4 separate regions of the Homo sapiens genome follow, and regions 2, 3 and 4 are each linked to region 1. The links are contacts of gene promoters, found by promoter capture Hi-C in blood cells and fetal thymus (Javierre and others, 2016). All regions are on one chromosome and are shown on one strand. The core of a region is centred on a gene start or on the middle of the fragment in contact, and the rest is flanking DNA. Distances in the headings are between cores, read along the strand shown. Region 1 holds the start of DNAJC5 (DnaJ heat shock protein family (Hsp40) member C5). Region 2 overlaps RTEL1 (regulator of telomere elongation helicase 1). Region 3 overlaps RTEL1 (regulator of telomere elongation helicase 1). Region 4 overlaps ARFRP1 (ARF related protein 1).

The links. The method cuts DNA at HindIII sites, captures the fragments that hold promoters and counts their contacts. A CHiCAGO score of 5 or more calls a contact.
Region 2: a fragment that was not itself captured here is called in contact with the fragment with the promoter of DNAJC5 in region 1 in 3 of 17 cell types (neutrophils, monocytes and naive CD4 T cells); the score reaches 5.4 in neutrophils.
Region 3: a fragment that was not itself captured here is called in contact with the fragment with the promoter of DNAJC5 in region 1 in 1 of 17 cell types (monocytes); the score reaches 6.9 in monocytes.
Region 4: a contact is called between a fragment that was not itself captured here and the fragment with the promoter of DNAJC5 in region 1, in 4 of 17 cell types (monocytes, naive CD4 T cells, naive CD8 T cells and 1 more). The highest score is 7.7, in monocytes.

What each region holds. Positions count from the first base shown.
Region 1 is chr20:63,893,660-63,896,801 of GRCh38, reverse strand. It overlaps DNAJC5 (DnaJ heat shock protein family (Hsp40) member C5), which reads right to left and starts at 1,676. Exons shown (of 5, transcript NM_025219.3): 1 at 1,479-1,676. RefSeq lists a silencer at 1,595-1,834, enhancers at 1,834-2,361, 2,294-2,463 and a cis regulatory region at 2,378. The HindIII fragment of the contact is 2,023 bases long and covers 585-2,607 here.
Region 2 is chr20:63,661,462-63,664,603 of GRCh38, reverse strand. It overlaps RTEL1 (regulator of telomere elongation helicase 1), which reads right to left. Exons shown (of 35, transcript NM_001283009.2): 3 at 3,108-3,142; 4 at 2,661-2,754; 5 at 1,977-2,058; 6 at 1,715-1,775. It overlaps RTEL1-TNFRSF6B (RTEL1-TNFRSF6B readthrough (NMD candidate)), which reads right to left. Exons shown (of 38, transcript NR_037882.1): 3 at 3,108-3,142; 4 at 2,661-2,754; 5 at 1,977-2,058; 6 at 1,715-1,775. Among named protein-coding and RNA genes, the nearest start is that of RTEL1, 4.7 kb to the right of the region's middle. The HindIII fragment of the contact is 3,638 bases long and covers 1-3,142 here.
Region 3 is chr20:63,682,652-63,685,793 of GRCh38, reverse strand. It overlaps RTEL1 (regulator of telomere elongation helicase 1), which reads right to left. Exons shown (of 35, transcript NM_001283009.2): 15 at 197-271; 16 at 1-3. RTEL1-TNFRSF6B (RTEL1-TNFRSF6B readthrough (NMD candidate)) reads right to left here. Exons shown (of 38, transcript NR_037882.1): 15 at 197-271; 16 at 1-3. Among named protein-coding and RNA genes, the nearest start is that of TNFRSF6B, 12 kb to the left of the region's middle. RefSeq lists enhancers at 1,631-2,355, 3,082-3,142. The HindIII fragment of the contact is 9,518 bases long and covers 1-3,142 here.
Region 4 is chr20:63,701,495-63,704,636 of GRCh38, reverse strand. It overlaps ARFRP1 (ARF related protein 1), which reads left to right. Exons shown (of 8, transcript NM_001267547.3): 5 at 2,420-2,501; 6 at 2,737-2,807. Among named protein-coding and RNA genes, the nearest start is that of ARFRP1, 4.9 kb to the left of the region's middle. The HindIII fragment of the contact is 735 bases long and covers 1,313-2,047 here.

The DNA.
Region 1 (3,142 bases), core at 427-2,926:
CTGTTTTTTTCACAAAACATTCTCTCCACGGACCTTACTAACTCACAGTAAAATATTAAGTATGATAAATGCATTAAGCAGGACACTAGGAGGATTCAGCGCTGTGGGAAAATTAAGCGAGGAAGGGAACTGGGTGGCAAGGCAGGCAGGCAGTCGCCAGGCTAGGGGGTTAAGGAACCAGGCATTCCAGGAAGATCCAAGGACAGAGCATGTGGCTCTGTTCAGAACTAGCAAGGAGGCTGATATGGCAGGTGCAGAGTGAGTCAGGGGCCAGTCTGAGGGTGGGTGGACTCAGACGCTGCAGGCTCATTAACACCCTCGCCAGGGGTGTCCCTCAGAGTCCACACAGCCAGCAACCAGAGCGGGCCCCTACAGCTCTCTGCTGGGCCAGACGCCAGCTGGAGCCACCCCGAGTCCTACAGCACCGACACAAGTGAAAGGGGAACTCAACCGAAACTTCCCCAAAGCCCTTAGATCCAGGCTTCTAATTTCATCTCTTGTTTGACAGACTACTCATTCCTGAAACTCAGCTGACATTTTTTTAAAAAGAGAAGCAAATAAACGAACATAAAATCTCAGAAGCTTTGAGTAAACTTTTGCCTTCAGGTAACCATGACAATAGTGGGAGCAATGTAACTGTTTTTGTCATTAGAATAGGTTTTTCTAAACAGGCAAATAAGGGCAGACGTGTCTAACCACCATCAAATCTTCCCAACCAAGCCTAAGCCGGAAAACAAAAATAAAGCTGAAATTTTTGCTTCCTTTTCCTGTATGACACAACTGAATGAATTTGAGAAATCATGGCTTCGGCACACGAAAAAGAGAGTCTTTAATCCAGACACTTAACACCAACAAGTTAGAACCTGAACGGACGAGTTCCTAATACTCTCCTTAAGAGTTCAATATAAAGCATGGCTTCAAATGTTTTTATAAAGCGGAGAAAACAGGTTTTTTCTAACAAACCAAATGCTTTTTGGAATTTACAACGTCGGAAAGATTAATTTACGATGCGTTACAGAACAATTTTCAATTCCCCGAGCTATAAACACAACGACCCAGGGACTAAATTATCTGCCTCCCTAAGACCAGCGATGGCCCAGCTTCTCCAGTCCCCCCGCAGGAGAGGAGACCCCGGGGGGTTGGGGGCGGCCGCGGGGACCTGGGGGAGCGGAGGGGGCGTCCGGGCCCGAAGAGACCCGCGGAGAGCGCCGCCCCAGCCCCCACCACGGTGCTCAGACCCCCGGCCCGGCCCGGCCCGGCTCCCGCAGGCCCCGGCGCCGACCTTCCCGCGCCCCCGCCCCGGCCCAGGCCGCGGCGTCGCAGCAGCTCCGGCCCCGAGCGCCCGCGCAGCCCCGGCCCGGGGGTCGCCGCCATTTCCGGCTCTGGAGTGCCGCCCCCGCCCCCCACCCGCGCCCGCCCGCCCGCCTGCCCGGGCCTGACGTGGGCCGATCCGCCCGCCCGACCCGCAGCGAGCTCACCTGCCCGTCCGCCCGCCCGCCCGCCCTCCCGCCGGCTCCGCGGCTCCGCTCCCCGATTCGCGGCGCTGCTGGGCAGCGGCCGACGCACTCCTCAGCCTGGAGACCCCGGGCGGCGGCGGCGGCGGCGGCAGAGGGCGCGGGTGCGGCACCGGCAGCGGCAGCGGCAGCGGCAGCGGAGACGAGCACGCTCACGCACGCACCCGCACCGGCGCGCGCGCTCCCGGAAGGACGTGGGCTCCGGCGTGTCGGAGCCGCGGGTGGGACCGGCTGCGCATGCGCTCAGAGAGCCGAGCGGAGGCTCCGTCCATGAAGGGGCGGAGTCCCGAGTGACAGCCCGGGGCCGAGGCGCCCTGTGGAGGCTCCGCCCATGAGTGGGCGGGGACGAAGCGCGGGGGCGGAGCCAGTCCTCCCAGTCTTCAGGTGGCCGCAGGTGGGTCCCGGGTGGACACGCCATGTGCTGCGGGGAACCGCGCAGAAAGAGAAGCGCAGGGCTTGCTGGTCTTGCAGGTGAGTTTACTCAGCGCTTTAAGTAAGACTGAGAAAACGTAATCGTTCTCATCAAAGAACTGAACAGGGAGCTGGTGGGAGACGGCTGCGGACCGTCGCCCCCGCCCCCACCCGGAGCCACCGTCCTGGGACTGACATTTGCTCAACCCTGGAGCGCCGAGATGGGACGTCCTTCCTTCCTTCCTGTCCAACCACTGAAATGCCGTCGCCAGCGCCCTCCCACCCTCCCGGAATCATCTCCAAACAGCAGCGTGGAGAGGCAGGACCACGAACGTCCACTCCACCTCCCTCTGCCCTTGCCCATCCCGTCGGCCACCCTTCCCTGTCCCTGTAACTGCAGGCGCTCCGCCACTCACTGACGGCCTGCCCCGCGTAGGCTGCCTGGGCCACTTCCCATCCTAGAAGCTCCCAGACCTCTGCGGCCGGTGCTCCTGCCTCCTCGCTTCCACCCTTGCCCGTTTACCTGAGTTCAGTGCGGTCATCTTTTTAAAACAAACCCAGTAGCATCCAAGGCTTCCCGTGACACACTGCGTGAAACCCAAATTCTCTCTCAACACGCTCTGGCCTCCTTCCTCTGCCCTCATAACTCACTGCCATAATGCCGGTCTTGAATTGCCAAGCTTGTTCCAGTCTCACAGCCTGGAAGTGTCAGAGCTTGGGAAGCCTCCTAGCAGTCATTAAGCTGCGCAACATCAAGCAGGCAGCAAGAAAAGGCCTATGGAACCCAAGAAGCAGAAAGGCCAGGTTCATATCTACAACTATAGATTCCAAGAGAATGAAATATTTCAGGCCAGAATTGGAGGGATGAGAGAATGAAATGGGCCTGGTACCGATCTCAGATTGAAGCTATATTCCACTTGTGCTGGGAGCTGCAAGAATGAATGAACCAGCCTTAAGTGAGTCCCTCTGAGACCTAGCAGTTCCACTTTAGGGACATTCTTCCAAAGAAAATATTCCTAAATACAGAAAAAGGTATATGCACTGAAATATTCATGAAGGCACTATTTTTAATAGCGAGAATGGAAACCTGCCCAACTGCACAAGTGAGCACTCAAATGGAATAATATAGTTACTGAAATGTATACAACGGGACCCATGGCTCACGCCTGGAATCTCAGCACTTTGGTAGACCAAGGCAGGAAGATCACTGGAGCCCA
Region 2 (3,142 bases), core at 314-2,813, 230 kb after region 1:
GGGGACAGGCAGGGGCTGGCCTGTGTCTTCCTGGTCTGAGTCCACAGGCCTGGAGGAGGAGACAGATGGGGGCCCCAATACCCAGAGGCCTAACACAGACGGAAGCAGCACCAGGAGGCAGTCAGAGGCCTCCCCACCAGGTCCCAGGCCCAGCATCCCCACCAGGTACCAGGCCCAGCGTCCCCACCAGGTCCCAGGCCCAGCAGCCACCGGGGCACTGCCCTTGTCCAGGACCACGGCCGGCCAGGCCCATGCTCAGCGTTCCATGCTATCCCAAGGACCCCCGCTGCATGGGACTGGGGACACCCAGCAGGCACTCCTGTCCTGGAAATCCAGGTGAGGACCTCGGAAATGACGCCTGCTTGAGAATTTCCATCAGCACATCTGCCCAACCCCCCGTCCCAGAGTCACGTCCTGCAGGCATCACCGGGACGAGCCGGCAGCTCCTGTCAGGGAACCTGGGGGCACAAAGGCAGAGCCCCTTCTTAGGACCAACAAAAAGGCCTGGACAACCACACATCAAGATGACTGAGGGTCCTTGGTGCCACCAGACCAAAAACCACAGCGAACAAGAAGCAACACAGAGGATGTCTCCAGCAACACAGCACATGCCTCCAGTAAGCGGGAGCCTCCCTGCAGGCCCATGTTCCGCCCACCCTGTCCCTCCAAGGGCCAGGGCCCAGAAACGCCTGGTAGTGGGTCATGCGGGACCACCTGGCTCAGTCTCTGCCAGGGGAGCGCCGCCCTAAATACAAGAGCAGCTTCAGGGTCCTCAGTCCTGGCACACTGAGCACTCAGCAAACGTGAGTGCAGAAAGCAGCCCACAGGACCGCCGATGCCTTCTGAGTGCTCCGGGGCCACCTCACCTGAGGCTTGAGCCCCAACTGAGGCAGGAAACAGAGGGAACCCTGATCCCACAGAAGCACAGACCGCGCCGACTGCACAGATGCCACCCTCAGGTCACAGAAACTGTAAGGGCAGCCAACGGGGGTGCACCCTGCCACTGTCTCTAGGACCCCGTGATGAGCCCCAGAAGCCCTTGACATACCCGAGGGGCAGCCACGTGGGTGGAGAAGCACCCCCGGCCCTCACAGGCTGTGGCCACGTGCAGTCACAGGGCAAGCTGCCCCGGCCGGCTCCTGTCACTCACATCCCGTCTCCAGAAGAGGCCCCAAGGCATCCCGTGTTGGACCCACAGGACTCAGCCTGGAGTCACACTCAGGGCCATAATTTTCCGCAGCAAGGTCAGCACAGGAAAAAGACACACGGGGCAGGGTCGCGGGAGGCCAGACACGGCTTCCAGGACACCCTCCCAAGATGGTATGAGGGCCGGTCACTGGAGCACCTGCTGCTGGGCAAGCAACAAAGTCCCCGAAGAGAAAGCCGGTGTTCAGCAAAACCCCTACTGTTTGCACCAGCAGGTTAGGTGCAGGGAGACCCTCTCATCAGGAAATGGAGGGAGCCTTCCCAAAATCCAAGGCCCCAGGCACCAGCCAGAGGCAGTCTTGCCGGCTGGCTGTCTCAGACCACTGTGTGAGCTCTTCCACACAGAAGTCTAACATGGGTGGCCCCGAGTCAGAAGACAGGGCCCAGGTACATGGCCGCACTGGCCGCCCCACCGGGCAAGCACAACCAGGCTGTGACACCACTGAGCTCCACCCTGAGAGGCTGCACACACTCCAACCCGACCCTGGTCCCACCCAGCTGCTTGTACCTTCTACGTTGTTGTAGAAATGACAGGAGCGACTTGCCACCTTCTTACGGCACAAGTGGATCTGTGGGAGGAAGGGCAGAGTGCGCAGCTGAAGCACGGCCAAGAAAGGACCGAAGCCAGTCCCCACCCCCACCAGGTCCTCCCCTGCAGTCCCCCAGTGAACTTCAAACCCTAGCCCAGCGGGAGCGCAGCCTGGGGCTCTGGACACCCAGCAGCACTCGCCTGTCGGACACTGAGCCGGAGCGGGAGCCCAGGAGCCTACCTGTAGATGGTTACTCTCTTGTTTCTTCACCTCAGGATGGATGCACAGCTGCTCCCGGGAGCCCAGCACACACACCTTAGGCCTGGTGGGAGAGAGCACCGTGGGTCGAGGAGGAGCTGTCTCCAACACCCACAGCGTGGCCCTGCAGCGTGAGCTGTATGGAGACACGCAGGAGCCTCGGCGGTCAGAGGAAGTGAGCATAACTGAAACGTGGCCCGGGCGTAGGAGGGAGCTAGAAGACGAGCGGGGGTACTGGACAGAGGGAGGAGATTCGACAGCTTCCACAGCACCCTGCCACTGGTCCGGCCACAGGAACCCGACAGAACACCAAGACTCTGCTGGGCTCTGACAAGCAGCAGGGCCTCCTCCTACTTCATGTGCAAAGCTGCACTGGGGGCCAGCCCTGACCTACTGCACAGCTGCTACAACAGCACCTGCGAGGAGCTCAGGACGCCCGCCCAAGGTCAGCACACAGATGCAAAGCTGCTTCCTCACAAGTAATGGGCATTGGAGGCAGCCCAGGCCGCACCCCACCCCTGGGCACCAGCGCTCTGCACACTTCGGGGGAGCGTCTAGAAAGACCACCACCCTCCACCACAGCACAGCATGGGGCTGTGGACTCAGCACCATGCCAAGCTGGTTCTCTTGAGGACCCCGAGACAGGTGTAAACTCGTCTGACCCACCGGTAGGAGGTGTTCCGAAGCTCGTTGATGACCTGTGTGAGTTGCGAGTGGGTCCTGGAGGCGTAAATAATCTTTGGGATGTCCGTGTAGCAAGCTGACCAGACACAAGCAAGCACAGAAGTCACGGTTCTCAGACAACGTTCTCACGTATCAAAGGCAGGTGGCATTCGGCTAACTCGGCCCTGCAGACAGCCAAGAATCTGACACCCCAGATACTGGTTTATCAAAAATGGGTGAAGTGGGCATCTGCCGTGCCCTAATTCAGCAAAAAAGCCCAACCCTAGGTTTACACCCACGATGGCGAGAAATTATACAGCAGCTAAAAAATTCTCCTTGAGTTCTGCTTGAGAGACGGCAGGAGTCCCCATGGGCCCACCCCACCCTCAGCGCCATCCCTTGCCAACCATCCCCACAGGAGGCCAGGAGAGGCCTGGGAACTAGGGTCACCTATGGGGTCTCCAGCAGCAGCAGCAGCGTTGCCC
Region 3 (3,142 bases), core at 383-2,882, 210 kb after region 1:
CACCTGGAGGGGACAGGACCAGGAGTGTGGAGGCCCCGCCCATGTCCTGGGGGCAGCCCCTTACCTTTTAGGACCAGAAGACCCCCAGCCCCACCTGCCTCCTGGAGGTGGCCCCCACCTTATAGGACTGTAAGGCCCCCAGCCCTGCCGGGGAACAAGGGCTGCCCTCCACCTGCCTCCTGGAGGTGGCCCCTACCTTATAGGACTGTAAGGCCCCCAGCCCTGCTGGGGAACCAGGGCTGCCCTCGGAGGGGTCCACACTGAACACAATCTGAAAGGCAGAGGAAGTGCAGCCCCGTCAGGAGCCTGAGGCCACCCGACTTTCTGCAGCATCAGCCGCATACACAGAAGGTCACAGGACACCCAGGGGTCATCGGTTCACCGGCCCCTGCCATCATGCAGCCCCAGGCCAATGGACAGGAGCTGGCACCTGCCTGACCCTTTCTCCTCCCTGCAGGGACCCCCGGTGAGCTCTGTGTTCCCCCAACATAGGCCATCTCCATGCACTGAAAATGCGGCAGCCCGAGGGGCCTCTCCTCCCGCCAACTGGCCCAGCCCTCCTCTCTGTGCCCCTGAGGGCCCCAAATTAATCTAGAAATTCAACATGGCCTAGTGCAGTGGCTCAGGCCTGTAATCCCAGCACTCCGGGAGGCTGAGAGGAGCAAACTGCCCGAACCCAGGAGTTCGAGACCAGCCTGGGCAACATGGTGCAACCCCAGGGTGTTCACCAAAAAAAAAAAAAAAAAAACCTAGCCGGGCATGGTGGCATGTGCCTGTGGTCCCAGCTACTTGGGAGGTTGAGCTGAGAGGATCCCCTGAGCCCAGGAGGTTGAGGCTGCAGTGAGCTGTGATGGTCCCACTGCACTCCAGCCTGGGCAACAGAGAGACCCTGACTCAAAAAAAAAACAGGAATTCAACACATTCTAGTCAAAATCACAGTAAGATTTTTACAGGAAGTAGACACGCTGACTCCAAGATGCACTATGGAAAAAACGTCAGGGCAGGTTTCAAAAGAACAAGAGGCCGGGCGTGGTGGCTCACACCCGTAATCCCAGCACTCTGGGAGGCCAAGGTGAGAGGATCACCTGAGGTCAGGAGTTCGAGACCAGCCTGGCCAACATGGCAAAACCCCATTTCTACTAAAAATATCAGGCTGGGCACGGTGGCTCATGCCTGTAATCCCAGCACTTTGGGAGGCGGATCACGAGGTCAGGAGATCGAGACCATCCTGGCTAACACGGTGAAACCTCGTCTCTACTAAAAATACAAAAAATTAGCCAGGCGTGGTGGCAGGTGCCTATAATCCCAGGTATTTGGGAGGCTGAGGCAGGAGAATGGCGTGAACCCGGGAGGCGGAGCTTGCAGTGAGCCGAGATCGCGCCACTGCACTCCAGCCTGGGCAACAAGAGCAAAACTCTGTCTCAAAAACAAACAAAAAGAAATTGGTTCAGGCCAACACCAGGACTTACGACAAAACCACAGTGAACAAAAACATGAGGAAAAGTGTGGCAGGTGCCCAGTGGAGTTGGGGGAAGCCGAGCCGCTCGGTCAGCGCACAGAACCACCGGTGTGGCGTGCTGGGAAAAATCAAGGTAGAGTCTGCCTTTCACACCCCCACAGGTGACGTCAGAAGGCATGGAGGCCCAGACACAAAGCTCCGTCACTCTACAGTGCAGTTTGGAGAATACACAAGACCCGGTTTAGCATCTTGGTCGGGAGGCACAAGCTCAGAACAAAAATCTGACAAGGAAACATGTGTTCACCAAACCTGTCATGAAAATGGAAAAAATGACCAGCATGAGACAAGGAAAGAATATGTATGTCGGCATGGGATCCTCAGAACTTAGAGAGAGAATATGTATATGGGATCCTCAGAACTTAGAGAGAGAATATGTATATGGGATCCTCAGAACTTACAGAGAGTATATGTATATGGGATCCTCAGAACTTACAGAGAACCCTGCAAATCAATGGGAAAGGAATGATGCCTGCACTAGGAGAGGAGCGCGTGACGACCGTTCCTGGAAAACGAGCCAAAAACGGCCAGAACAGGAACGCAAAGCCCCCAACAGGCTCAGCAATGTGGCCATGTCAGCCAAGCCACCGCCGTCAGAGCCCCGCCGCAGACTTGAGGGAGTTCTGCTGGGAACACCAAGAAGCCGGAATCATTCACAGAAATGCGGAGAAGCCGAACTAGAGAACACCGGGGGGCAGACACCACGGCTGGAACACAGAGACTTGGCAACATGCGTGGATTTGTGCAGGCGTGCGTGCGTGTGTGCGTACTCTGCATGCATGTGCACGTGCCTGGGTACGCACAGAAGGAGAGAGAAATTTCCTTCCGTTCCTTCCTTCCTTCCCAGCCATTTTCACTGTCAAGACAGCTAAACACAGGGCCTTGTGTTTTACCAAAGCATTTGGCCCACGGGGATGGAAGTAACAGAACAAGTTCACCCCCACGCTGGTGGCTGCCATGAGCAGGGCTGAGTCTGCCTCAGGAAACAGCTTCCTTCGAAAAGCCTTCTGCTGGGCAGGCATGGAAGCTCTTGCCTGTAATCCCAGCACTTTGGGAGGCCAAGGCGGGCAGACTGCCTGAGCCCAGGAGTTTGAGACCAGCCTGGGAAACATGGCAAGACCTCATCTCTACAAAAAAATTTTAAAAATTAGCTGAGTGCGGTGGTGCACACCTGTGTTCACAGCTCCTCGGGTGGCTGAGGCAAGAGGATCACTTGGGCCCAGGAGGTTGAGGCTGCAGTGAGCTGTGATCAAGCCCCTGCACTCCAGCCGGGGTGACAAAGCGAGACCCTTTCTCAAAAAAACACCACCACAAATCCCCCTGTGCCTCAGCCCAGGGCAGCTCCGGCCTCAGGCAGAGAGGGATGAGGACCCAGCAGTCTCACGGGGGCCCAGGGGCAACTGGTTCCCCAACACGGGCCAGCACTGCCCAGAGTTTGCCTCCAGCTAAGCCCTGACTTCCGAGCACACGGCCTGACCCTGCCTGGAGTTCGCCTCCAGCTGAGCTGTGCATCCCACATCCTCTTCCTGGGGCCACTGGCCCCACTCTGCCCCCAGGGTCACCTGTGACTCAGGGCTGCAGGCCCAACCCAGCACCAGCCCTATGGGCACCGCCCACACCTGCAGG
Region 4 (3,142 bases), core at 431-2,930, 190 kb after region 1:
AAGAGGGAGACTTAAGGGGGCCACTGTAGCCCATCCTTGCTGCTGGTCTTGGGGCTGCACAGCCCTTCCTTGAGTGCCCTCCCAATTCACTACCACTTCTGCTGGGGTGCGACTTCCTGGCAGTCTGAGCCCTTCTCCAGACACCACCGTGGTGGGGCCAGTGGCTCCCTGGGTCCCCAGCTGTGGGACAGCTGTGGGATGGCAGCCCCATCTCCTGCCCACCAGGGTCTCCTAGACATGAGGTGCAAGTCATGCCCATGAGGCAGCTGTGGCTCGTCATTCAGCGTGTCTGCTGAGTATGTGCTGCTCTAGTGGCCGGGACCCCTGACCCTGCTGAGCTCAGAGCTGGGAGGATCAGCTGCAGGGACCCCCCTAGGTCACTGGGAGGGACCGGAAGGGAGGCCCCTGCTCCCACCCTGGTTTCCTGTATCCTGCATCCTTGTGCAGAGCCAGCACCACAGAAAGGGGCGTCATTGCGAATTGGCCTCGTCCTGGGGCTGGACCCTGGGTTGGTGTCCACATGTGTGGCATGTGCCAGGACCTCAGCTCCTGGGTTCTTTGCTGTAACACTAGTCTCTCAGGCTGGCTGGCACTTTGCAGTTGGGGAGCTCCCATTGCTGCTGGGGAGAAAAACTCAGACCCACAGTCCCTCTGACTGCTCCACTGGGGTCAGCTGGCCAGCCAGGAGCCACGCTTGGACACCTCCCTCTTCCCCCTCCTTGTGGGGCACCCCACAATGACCACTGCTGTGACGCCTCCACTGGGGCGTGGGGCTCTGGGTCCTGCCCGCACTCAGCCCTGAGGTGTCGCTCCCGTCCACTGCGGCCCTGCTGGGCTGTGCACCTTGTGCCTGGTAGGTGTGATGGGTGGCTCTGGCCACGTGGTCCCATGGTCCAGGACCCGGTTGCACATGAACCTTCTGCCACCCTGCTCAGAAGCCCCAGGAGCCACGTGGAGATTCTCTCACTGGGCTTGCTGCAGCCTCCACAGAGCCGCCCCTCCTGCCACAGAGGTCTCCACCTTAGGGTCCGCCTGCTCCCTTGTGTCAGCAGCAGACAGCCGGCACACTGCAGGGTCCCTTGAGGGGTTGGCGGCCTCTGTGTGGGACCTGTCTGTAGGCCAGAGAAGTTCCTGGGGGTGGGGGGGCCTCGCTACCTGCAGAACCCTGGAGGGCGCCTGGCCTTGGGCCTCCTCTCCACTGTGGGAAGTTCCTGGGGGTGGGGGGGCCTGGCCTTGGGCCTCCTCCTTTCCACTGTGGGAAGTGCAGGTGCACAGGCTTCTCTCCTCTGTGGGAAGTGCAGGTGCACAAGCTTGTCTGGCACTGGGATGGGGTTGTCTGGTACTCCCTGCTCAGACACCCTAAGGATTTCGGAGAGTTGGGCTGTGCCTCCTGGCTTCTCATGCTCTCGGGTGTGTGTGTCTTAACACACTGACCACCAGCTTGTCCTACCTGGTCAGCATCCAGTTCTAGGTCTCTGGGCACTCATGCCTGGACAGGAGAGCTGGCACAGCCTGGAGGCAAAGTGGCAAATGTGAGCTGTTGTCTGCTCCACGTGGACGCGGAGTTTGCTGTGTTTTTTTCTGATTGAGATAGAGGTGCACTCATCTGGTCCAGGGCTCAGCACTTGTACCTGAGGCTGCAGGGGCTGTGCCCTGTCTTGCCCAGGAGTGTTGCCAGCGAGCCCAGGACTGACCAGCCCAGGCTGCAGAGGTCTGAGCTCAGTGACTCTGGCCCTGTCCTGGCAGGGAAGGCTCGCTTCGTAGATGGCGCTGGTCAGTCTTATCCGCATGGCCACACTCCCTCCCTGTGCGAGGTGCTGGCACAGAGCCCCACAGGTGCACTCCCTCAACGGGCCAGGCTGTGGTCTAGGTTCCTCCAGCCCCCAAACCCTATCTTTTTTTTGAGACAGGGTCTCTCATTCTCACCCAGGCTGGAGTGCAGTGGTGTGATCAGAGCTCACTACAGCCTCAACCTCCCAGGCTCAAGCCATCCTCCCACCTCAGCCTCCCGAGTAGCTAGGACTGCAGGCGCACATTACCATAAGCTTTTGTACAGACGGAGTCTCACTGTGTTGCCCAGGTTGGCCGTGAAGTGGGCTCAGGTGATCCTCCTGCTTCTGCCTCCCAAAGTGTTGGGATAATAAGTGTGAGCCACCACGCCTGGCCCAATCCCTGTCTTTCACCTTTGGCCACCATCAGGCCAAAGGTTGCCGGCAGGTTCTCAGGAGCAGCGTCTGGGGACACCTCCACCAGATCTCCCCGCAACCCCAGAATGCATCCCAGAAGGGTCTTGCAGTTGGGGGCTGCCCTCTTGCCCCTTCCTCATGTGAGCCCCTCACTGTGGCCATGACACAGGCCTGGCTCTGCTGGCCCTTGGCAGGGTGGGGACTGAGCCCCAACTCCTGGTGCTTCCTCCCAGTATTATGCGGAGTGTCACGGCGTCATCTACGTCATTGACTCCACCGACGAGGAGAGGCTGGCTGAGTCCAAGCAGGCGTTTGGTGAGTGCGGCCTGGCTGCTCTGGGAGGGATGGATGGTGAGTGGGGGCAGGTCCAGCTTGGGCAGCTCTGTGCCTGGGGCAGGCTCAGTGTCTGGTCAGAAGTGCTCCTGCCTAGTGGGTGACGGGGGGGGGGGGGGCAGAGGGAGTGGCTGTCACAGTGTCCACGCCTGTGGGCCCCTGGGCAGTCAGAGGCAGGATGCTGGGTGTGAGGCGCTGCCTCTCCTGCCCTCCCCAGAGAAGGTGGTGACCAGCGAGGCGCTGTGCGGTGTCCCCGTCTTGGTGCTGGCCAACAAGCAGGATGTGGAGGTGAGCCCCACCCCTGCCTCCCGCAGCAGCTTCCCGAGTCCCCAGCCTCCCCCACAGCAAGGGGAGCAGGTGTGCACCCAGACACCCCAGGCCCAGTGACTGCCCAGGGGGTACAGAGCCATTCTCAAGGCCTGCCCTGCCCCCAGCAGCTTCCCAAGCCTGGTTCCTCTCCAGACCTGCTGCTGCCAGCCCTGGAGGTTCTCCCACCTCAGGGCAGGCGCCCAGAGGCCTCTTCCTGCTATGCAGGGCACCTCTCCCCAGGAGGGCGGCCGTGTCTCAGGAGTGTGTGGCCAAGCTGTGGGGACACCCAGGTGAAACTCAGAGCTCAAAGAAGT